2 separate regions of the Homo sapiens genome follow, and region 2 is linked to region 1. The links are contacts of gene promoters, found by promoter capture Hi-C in human tissues and cell types (Jung and others, 2019). All regions are on one chromosome and are shown on one strand. Each heading gives the region's core, a stretch centred on a gene start or on the middle of the fragment in contact. The rest is flanking DNA. Distances are from core to core; before and after follow the strand shown. Region 1 holds the start of RASD1 (ras related dexamethasone induced 1). Region 2 overlaps ATPAF2 (ATP synthase mitochondrial F1 complex assembly factor 2).

Region 1 (4,781 bases), core at 143-2,642:
GCGGATCGCCGGGAGGGGAGACGCCAGTCCGCGCGCGCTCCCGGCCTGGGGCGCACCGGGCCGTTGGATTTGACTTAACAAAAAGGTCCTCCTTAGGTTGTGTCGCCAGCGCGGCGGGGCTCCTAGCTGATGACGCAGCGCTCCTTGTCCTTGGCCTGGCTGCCGGCGCTGGCCTTCTCGCGGATGTACATGAGGTCGCTGTGTACGCTGGGCCGGCGCGCGAAGGGTGCCACGATGCCAAAGGCGTCGCCCGGGTCGCCGCCGCCGCCGCCGCTGCCGGCCCGCAGCAGCTTCTTGTTCCGCAGCGCCTTCTTGTGCAGCACGTCGCAGTACTGCACCGAGACCTTGCGGTGCAGGTCTGGGCTCATCTCGCTGGGCAGCTTGGCCATGGCGAAGAGCGCGCGGAACATCTGGTCCAGGCTGCTGTTCTTCTTGGCCGAGATCTCGAAGTAGGCGCAGCGCTGGGGGTCGTCGCCCACCAGCTGCTCGATCTCGCGCTGGTCCACCTCGCGGTAGAAGTCGCGGTCACCCTTGTTGCCGCAGATGACCAGGGGCACGTCCACGTTCTCCTTGGTTTTGTTCTTGAGGCAAGACTTGGTGTCGAGGATCTGCTGCCTGAGCCGCTGCACCTCCTCGAAGGAGTCGCGGTTGTCCAGACTGAACACCAGGATGAAAACGTCTCCTAGAGGGGGCACAGAGAGCAGAAAAGGAGAAGGTGAGGGTGGCCGCCCAGGGGACAAGTCGGGCTGACTTTGAGGCCGCGCGGGGCGCGCTAGCCTCTCTAAGCGCGAAGCGCACTACTCGGCGCGCGGCAGCCGGACCGGCGCTCGCGGGGCGCCCTGGCCGAGGGTTCCCCGCCCTTCCCTCCCGCACCTGCCCGGCCCCCGGCTCACCTGTGAGGATGGAGAGGCGCCGCATGGCGGGGAACGGGTGGTTGCCGGACGTGTCGAGGATGTCGAGCTGGTAGACCTCGCCGCGGATGGAGTAGAACTTGCGGTGGAAGTCCTCGATGGTAGGCGTGTAGGCGTCCTCGAAGCGGCCGGTGAGGAAGCGCGACACGATGGCCGTCTTGCCCACCTTGGACGAGCCGAGGATGACCATGCGATAGCAGTTCTTGGCCGGGATACTCAGCTCCGAGTCGCTCGGGCACATCTTCTTGATCATCGCGGCCAGTTTCATTGGGCAGAGGGGCCGCGAGGGCGGGCGCGGGGCCGAGAGAAGGGCAGAGAGCGGCTGAGGGTCGCTGGGGTGGCACGCGGGGTGAGCGGCTGGAGGGCTCTGCTCGGGCTGGGCGCGGCTCGGGCTTGGGGCTCCGGCTCCGCTCGGGCTGGGCTCGGGCTAGGCTGGGCTCGGCTGGGGTTCTCCCAGGATCTGGGCACAGGCCGCTTGCTCTGGCTTTGGCGCCCGGCCGCCGCCCTTATATGCAGCCTGCTCGGCTGCCCCGCCCCGGCCCTCCCAGCTCGGTGCGTCACGCCCCGCGGGGCCCGCCTCCCCCGCACCGGCTCCCAGTCCCGGCGACCTCGTCACCCGCTGCCGGGCTCCTGCTCTCTGGGCGCGGGGGCTGGGGGGAGCAGTCCAGGGTCGGGCTGAGGCTGGAGGCGCTCGGACTCCGCTTTTCCACTGCCGCGGGCTCGGCGGCCGCAGGGGCGTCGGGGTTCTGGTCCCGGCGGTGCCCCTGTCCCTCTGCGACTTCGGGCAAGGACCCCCATTCCTGCACCTCCCGCGCGCGTACACTTATTTTCTTTGGTTCTCAGTTTCCCCAGAGAATAGGAATCTAGTAAGTAACCCAGTAAGCGCAGCAGCGTTTGCTGAGTGCTTGCGCGGACCGTATATTGCAGTCCTCAGAGCACAGCCCCAGCCCCAGCCCCCTTCCGCTCCGGTCCCCAGCCGGGCTCTTGTTCCCGGGAGGCGACCGCCGGGCGGACGCGGGGTTTCAGGGCCTCAGGCGCGGAGCTCGGCACCGCGCGCTCGGGCCGCCAGAGGGCAGCAGAGGGCCCGGCCGGCGGCTCGGGGAGGCTGTGGCCGCCGCGGGCAGAGCTAGAACAGAGGCTAGGAGCAGGCGGGTGGGGAGCGGCAGGGATGGAGCAGGGGTCTCAGGGCGCCTTGCTGGGGCCCAACAGGAGCGGTCCCCAACCCCGCGCTCTGCTGCAGGCCTCAGCCTGCTCCTTTCTCCCAGCCAGAGATGCTCTGTGGTATGGAGGGCTCTGCAGCCAGCGGCCCACCCCGTCCATCATAGCATTTTGGGCTTTTACTGTGCCGCGCGTGGGCCGACGTTCTCATTGTCTAGCTGAGAGACCTGGAGCTCAAAGCCACAGCGAGCCAGGAAGGCCCTGGGAGCACAGCACAGCCTCTTGCTTTCTCCTGGGCCTCAGTTTTCTCTTCTGGAAGATACTGATTCTGGTTCTGTGATTAAGGATGAAAATATGCAAATGCTTTAGGAGGGCGGGGCCTGGTAATAACAATAGCAACAATAACAGTAGTATTGACCCATGAGGCCTGGTGGGGGTACTCTCAAGAGCACACCAGGTCGATCAGTAACCAGGAGTGGGGTGATGTTGCTGAACATTGGCAACAGGCTGTCTGGAGCCAGCTCCTCAGCCCTGAGCTCTTGAGGCAGTCACTGCTCCTCAAGGCAACCTGTGTGCTCAGTGTTTTGCTTTGGCCACGTCTGACTTACGAGAAAACTAGGGAGCCATTAGCTGGCACCACCGGCCCAGCTGTCAGGTGGTGGTCTGCAGGCAGTGCTGTGAGTGCCATACCACCCACCCCATGCCTACCCACCTCCCTCCCACGCTGGCACTTGCTGTAGGGGCTGCTGCAGGACACCACTAACTTGTTTCTCAGCCCAGCTTGGCCCCCATCCTCAGAGTCCCTGCATCTCTCCCAGGCCTCACTCTTACTGTCAGATATTTCAAATGCACGCATCACACAGTGAGCATCCAAGGGCTCATCAGTGGCCCTGGCCTGGCTCTGATTCCTGGTGTCACTTATGCAGCAGTTATCCGACAGGCTAGCTGGGGCTGGAGCCCCGCCATTCTTGGTTCCTGCCCCCATCTGAGGTATGTCTGCCAGAGTCTGGGAGAAGGGGAGAAGGAACTGAGTCGCAGCCCTGGATATAGGGCTGCAGTGGTGCAGGGTGTTCACTGCATAAAGGAGCCAGTTGAGGGTACATGGGGGGGCTCAGTTAAGGTACGGACCTGAACCACCTTCAGACTGAGCACCGCCTTCCTGTGCCTCCCACAGCGGCACTGCATGGGCAGCCGGGCTCTAACTTGGGATGACTGATGGCCAGGGCTATAGTGAAGGTGGACCCCACACAGCCATTGCCTCCTGGGGCTCTAGTCCCAAGAGGGTCCATTTGATATGAGTGGAGGGCCCGAGGGTCAAGGATCACAGCCCAGCTCTCCCCTGGTCAGTGTCCAGGCTGGCCCCTTAAATCAGGAACATGACACTGGCAGGCACTGATCTAGCCTGTGTCCTCAGCCACAGTGATTCCTGGTACCATCTGTGCATGGCCGTCTGCCCTACGGATGCTGGGTTGTGAAGACCCAGGCCCACCTGCCATTCCCATTCTGAATGCCCCAGAGCGCCTCCTGTCAAGGAGGTGGCCTCTGGGACTTTACTCCTCAAGCAGCAAGCCAACTTCCTTGTTTCCGCCCTCGTCTTTTCTTTTAAAAGGGCATCTCTTTCCTTTTATTACAAAAGTAATAAATGCTCATGGTTTTTTAAAAACCCAAGCCATTTCAGAAAGGACCAGAATGAAAGAAGCACTGGGATCAGGCCTCTCTCGGCCACACCCAGGACAGCCTAGCCACCAATTCTGTGGGGTGGCATCTCCTGATGTCCCCACATGGGCGGACTCCCAACTGCATGAAGGAAGTCTTACCCCGGTGCAGCCTCTGCCACCCAGCTCTTTGTTCATGCAGGTGCCCTTTTTCCTTCTTCTGGGGTTTGCCTGTGTGACTTTATGCCAGGCCCTACCCTAGGCTGGCTAATCAGAGTGGCCGGGGAGGACTGGGGGCTGGAAGACAAACAGGAACAACTCGCAACTCACAGAACCATCCGCCCCGTGGATCCCGGAGTCCCACAGAGAGGGAGCACGTGTACTGGGCTTCCCAGCACTCCCGCCGCCTGGGCCCTGTCAGCCATCGCGGCATTTGATGTCCAGGTTGATCACAGTCCCATGCTGTATGCAATAAATAATTCTGTTTTCTGTGTGTTTGGGGCATGAGACAACAAACAGCGTATATGAGGCTATGAGCCTGTCTGTAAATAGTATTTACCTGCAGTGCAGCAATTTTGCTGCTTAGAGGGGAGGGGAACTGTTTAAAATATTTGACAATGTCGGGGGTGATCTGGGGGTGGGCAGGTGGACCCACCCCCCCCCCACCAGCCCCAGGCAGGAAATGCCAGCCACACAGCCTCATTTGAGGGCAAAGAGCAATTAGAAGGTTCTTGAGAGCTGGGCCAGAGGAGAATGCTGGGCACCCCATCAGAGCTTTGCCTGTTGTGGTGTCCTGAGACAGAGTCCACACAAAGGCCAGAAGTGGCTACTTCAGGTGACAGGAACCCAGAGCACCCTCGGGCCTGGGCATTGCCGTGCTGGCCCGTGCGGCCAGAGCCCATCTCTACCAGCGCCTTGGACAGAGGAGGCCCTGAGGCACGCTTCTATCCTGTGTGGCCCTGGTACGCCACCTCCTGAAGAGGAGGAAAGGGGCAAATAGAGCTGGCTTTGCGTTCCCTCTGACAGGCTCCCCTCATCAAGCTGAGATTTTAACTCT
Region 2 (4,710 bases), core at 100-2,599, 530 kb after region 1:
TCACTCGTTCATGTGTTCACTGAGTTCTCAAAGTCTTTGGAGACCCTAACTGAAGTTATTTATTGGAAATAATGATGCAGCATGTGGAAGAAAAAAGAGTAAATCATTTGCTTTATTTATTTATTTTATTATTATTTTTTTTTTGAAATGGCGTCTCACTCTCTTGCCCAGGCTGGAGTGTAGTGGTGCAATCTCAGCTCACTGAAACCTCCACCTCCTGGGTTCAAGCGACTCTCCTGCCTCAGTCCCCTGAGTAGCTGGGATTACAGGCATGCGCCAACACACCAGGCTAATTTTTGAATTTTTAGTAGAGGCAGAGTTTTGCCATGCCAGCCAGGTTGGTCTCGAACTCCTGACCTCAAGTGATCCAACCCGTGAGCCACCATGCCCGGCCAAATAGTTTGCCTTTAACGCTAAAAAAAAAAAAAAAAAAAAAAAAAGGCTGGTCGCAGTGGCTCATGCCTATAATCCTAGCACTTTGGGAGGCCAAGGTGGGAAGACTGCTTGAGGCCAGGAGTTCAAGACCCAAGCTGGGCAACATGAGACCCCATCTCTACAAAAAATACAAAAATGAGGCCGGGCGCAGTGGCTCACGCCTGTAATCCCAGCACTTTGGGAGGCGGAGGCGGGTGGATCACCTGAGGTCAGGAGTTCGAGACCAGCCTGGTCAATGTGGTGAAACCCCATCTCTACTAAAAATACAAAAATTAGCCAGGTGTGGTGGCACATGCCTGTAGTCCCAGCTACTCGGGAGGCTGAGGCAGGAGAATCGCTTGAACCCGGGAGGCAGAGGCTGCAGTGAGCTGAGATCACGCCACTGCACTCCAGCCTGGGTGGCAGAGCAAGACTCCATCTCAAAAAAAAAAAAAAAAAAAAAAAGAAAAATTAAAAATTAGCTAGGCATGGTGGCACATGCCTGTAGTCCCCAGCTACTAGGAAGGCTGAAGCAGGAAGATTGCTTGAGCCCAGGAGGCTGAGGCTTCAGGTGAGCTGTGATGGCACCACTGCACTCCAGCCTGGGCAACAGAACAAGACCCTGTCTCTTGGGGAAAAAAAAAAAAAAAAAAAAAACAAGCTTAAGTTAAAATTTCATTAATTCAAATAGACCATGAAAATTCAGGAGAAATTAGTATGTGTGCATGGACAGGGAAGGGTAATGGAGAAGTGGGCAACTGGTTTTACTCCAAATATTTTTTTTCTTTTTCTTTTTTTTTTTTTTTTGAGATGGAGTCTCACTCTGTTGCCCACGCTGGAGTGCAGTAGCGCGATCTCAGCTCACTGCAAGCTCCACCTCCCAGGTTCACGCCATTCTCCTGCCTCAGCCTCCTGAGTAGCTGCGACTACAGGCGCCGCCACCACGCCTGGCTTTTTTTTTTTTTTTTTTTTTTTTAGTAGAGACGGGGTTTCACCGTGTTAGCCAGGATGGTCTTGATCTCCTGACCTCGTGATCCACCTGCCTTGGCCTCCCAAAGTGCTGGGATTGCAGGCGTGAGCCACCGCGCCTGGCCTTTTTTTTTTTTTTTTTTGAGATGGAGTCTCACTTTGTCGCCCAGGCTGTAGTGCAGTGGCGCGATCTCGGTTCACTGCAAGTTCTGCCTCCTCGGTTCACACCATTCTCCTGCCTCAGCCTCCCGAGTACCTGGGACTACAGGTGCCTGCCACCACGCCTGGCTAATTTTTTGCATTTTGTTTAGTAGAGGCGGGGTTTCACCATGTTAGCCAGGATGGTCTCGATCTCCTGACCTCGTGATCCGCCCACCTCAGCCTCCCAAAGTGCTGGGATTACAGGCGTGAGCCACTGCGCCCAGCCTACTCCAAATATTTTTATGTTTTCCCATCATATCAGTTTTCTATAAATCTCATTTGCTATCACTAATACTTACAGACAGAGGGCCCAAAATTGCATTCCACATTTGCACTTACTAAACTAAGGCCCAAATTGTTTTCCCACAAAAATATGTGTGTGTCTACCATGTGTCTTGGCACTTGGGATACAAGAGTGAATAAAATAGACAGAGTTTAAAGTGTTTTTTTAGGCCAGGCGCGGTGGTCACGCCTGTAATCCCAGCACTTTGGGGGGCTGAGGCGGGCGGATCACGAGGTCAGGAGATTGAGACCATCCTGGCTAACACAGTGAAACCCCATCTCTACTAAAAATACAAAAAATTAGCCGGGCGTGGTGGCGGGCGCCTGTAGTCCCAGCTACTTGGGAGGCTGAGGCAGGAGAATGGCGTGAACCCGGGAGGTGGAGCTTGCAGTGAGCTGAGATCGCACCACTGCACTCCAGCCTGGGTGACAAAGCAAGACTCCATCTCAAAAAAAAGAAAATAAAGTGTTTTTTTAGGATCAGATCTGTCCACCAAGATGATGTTGTCTTACTATGGCACCTTCATCTGAAATCACAACACTGATTATCTCATACGTTTGACACTAAAATTAGAAGTTTACAGCACCCTACTGCTTTTAAATTTCTCTACATGCTGTCCTGGTCATATCCAAATGGCAGGCTAGACATGGGTCTGGAGGCCTCCTTTCCTCTCTCAGGTCTGGAGTGAGGTAGACCATGTCCTTTGTGTTTTCCAATGCAACAGGCTGGGCTGCATGTATAAAAGCCAGGCCAGGCAGGAAGTTGGGAAGGGCTCTGAAAGCTCTGACTCAACACTGGGGAAAGGGTCTTCCCATGTCAGCAGGAAGAGCCAGCAGAGTGTACAAATGTACAAGAGTGAGCACTCTAGCATACTTCCAGGCCCGGTCTGGGAAGTGAACCCAAGAGACCTGGGGCAGACGAACAGACTCAAGGCAGGAACTGCCAGCACAGGGCTGAACCTTCAAAAGCTCCTGGGACAGCCAGGTTTCCCAAGAGGGAAGTCTTTTTTCTGTTTTGTTGGCCAGGCTCACTTCTGTAACTGAATAAGAAAAAACTAGATGGGAGTGGGATAGATGGAGGGCAGGGAAGAAGCCACCAAAAATTTCTCCAAGCAGAAGAAAACCATGCAGAAAATGAGACGGCAGAAGGGCAAAAGAAGCCCAGGGGCCGCCAGGCCTCAGATTAGAAGGCAGGTGCACATAGATGTGTTTTAGCCAGGGGCTCTCCTGAATGACCCACTGACACTTGGAGGGGCAAACGTGTCTTGGAACAAGCTTTGGTGAGTACTGATCATGTTCCAGGACATACAAGTCCTGGGGATGGGACATGTGCAAAGCTCATCTCTGCACTCTCCAGCCATTTACTGTCTAGTAGGAATACAGACACTAAACCAGGCAAACAATAAGGTGACTTCTGTGATGGGGCAGGCACGTGGAACGATTAGTCAGAATTAAATTGCAACTTGAAGGTGAGGCAGGAGGTACCAAACTTTCTGATTGATTCAATTTTTTTTTTTTTTTTTTGGCAGAGCAGGGCTGTGGAAGTAGTTTCCAGATGAAGAAACAGGTTGCATGAAGGACCAGGGTTTCTAGAGAGCAGTTGTGGACTAGACAGATGGTCAGAAGGAGAATGCAAGATTCTCTAAGATGCTAGAGAGGGCAATGGGGCCACATATGGGGGACATGTAGATCACTGCAAAGACAGCAAAGGGAGCCAAGTAAAGGCTCCACACAGGCATACAGGAACTTGATCTGGGGCCGGGCATGGTGGCTCATGCCTGTAATCCCAGAACTTTGTGAGGCCGAGGGGGACAGATCACTTAAAGCCAGGAGCTCAAGAGCAGCCTGGCCAACATGGTGAAACCCTGTCTCTACAAAAAATTAAAAAATTGGCGAGGTGTGGTATTGCCTGCCTGTAATACCAGCTACTCAGGAGGCTGAAAATCAGTTGAACCCAGGAGGCGGAGGTTGTAGTGAACCAAGATTGCGCCACTGCACCCCAACCAGGGTGACAGAATGAGACTCTGTCTCAAAAAAAAAAAAAAAAAAGAACATGATCTGGACAATTCGTTTGGGGGATCCATGTTCCCCAACAATGTCACATAAGACAAAATGTGAGACCACCAGAAACCTATGAAGCTTCCATGTTCTCGGTGAATACATGGTTAGCAGACATCAATGGTAACCCTGTCTTTAAAGATGAAAAAAATCAGCCTAGCTTTGTAGGATCATGCAGAACTGGCCTTTCCTTTAGAAAGATTACCAGCCTCAGGAACCACAACTCCCACAGTGCACCAAGAAGAGGAAGTACTGGTTTCAGAGCTGTCTCAGTGCCTTTATCTTTTAAAACAGTGCCATCTGGTGGGCCTTAAACCTTAAAGGTGAAATTCTAACTCCAGGGCCATCTGTAATCCTAGGGCGGCTCTAACCAACTCTTTTCAGGTATCAAAATTCTTCAGCCCAAATACATAAAGAACTCTTACGACTCAATAACAAAAAGACAAATAGGCTGGGCATGGTGGCTCGAGCTTGTAATCCCAGCACTTTGGCTGGCTGAGGCAGGTGGATCACTTGAGTCCAAGAGTTCAAGACCAGCCTGAGCAACATGGCAACACCCTGTCTCTACAAAAATACAAAAATTAGCCAGGCATGGTGGCACGTGCCTGTAGTCCCAGCTACTCAGGAGGCTGACATGGGAGGATCACCTGAGCCTGGGAGGTTGAGGCTGCAGTGAGCCATGAACACACCCCTGCACTCTAGCCTAGGCAACAGACCGAGGCCCTGTCTCAAAAACAACAACAAATAACCCAATTTAAAAATGTTCAAGTCTGAGAGACCGAGGTG

Evidence for each region. Contacts are between HindIII fragments. The study calls those that stand out against the background at their distance.
Region 2: a contact is called between a fragment that was not itself captured here and the fragment with the promoter of RASD1 in region 1, in 1 of the 25 tissues and cell types used here (lymphoblastoid cells).

Annotation. Positions count from the first base shown.
Region 1 is chr17:17,495,003-17,499,783 of GRCh38, forward strand. It overlaps RASD1 (ras related dexamethasone induced 1), which reads right to left and starts at 1,393. Exons shown (of 2, transcript NM_016084.5): 1 at 894-1,393; 2 at 1-682. The coding sequence starts at 1,179. The coding sequence ends at 123. RefSeq lists silencers at 1,324-1,543, 1,704-1,833, 1,884-2,113. The HindIII fragment of the contact is 34,145 bases long and covers 1-4,781 here.
Region 2 is chr17:18,029,465-18,034,174 of GRCh38, forward strand. The region is part of intron 1 of ATPAF2 (ATP synthase mitochondrial F1 complex assembly factor 2); the gene reads right to left. Among named protein-coding and RNA genes, the nearest start is that of ATPAF2, 7.3 kb to the right of the region's middle. The HindIII fragment of the contact is 4,448 bases long and covers 1-3,573 here.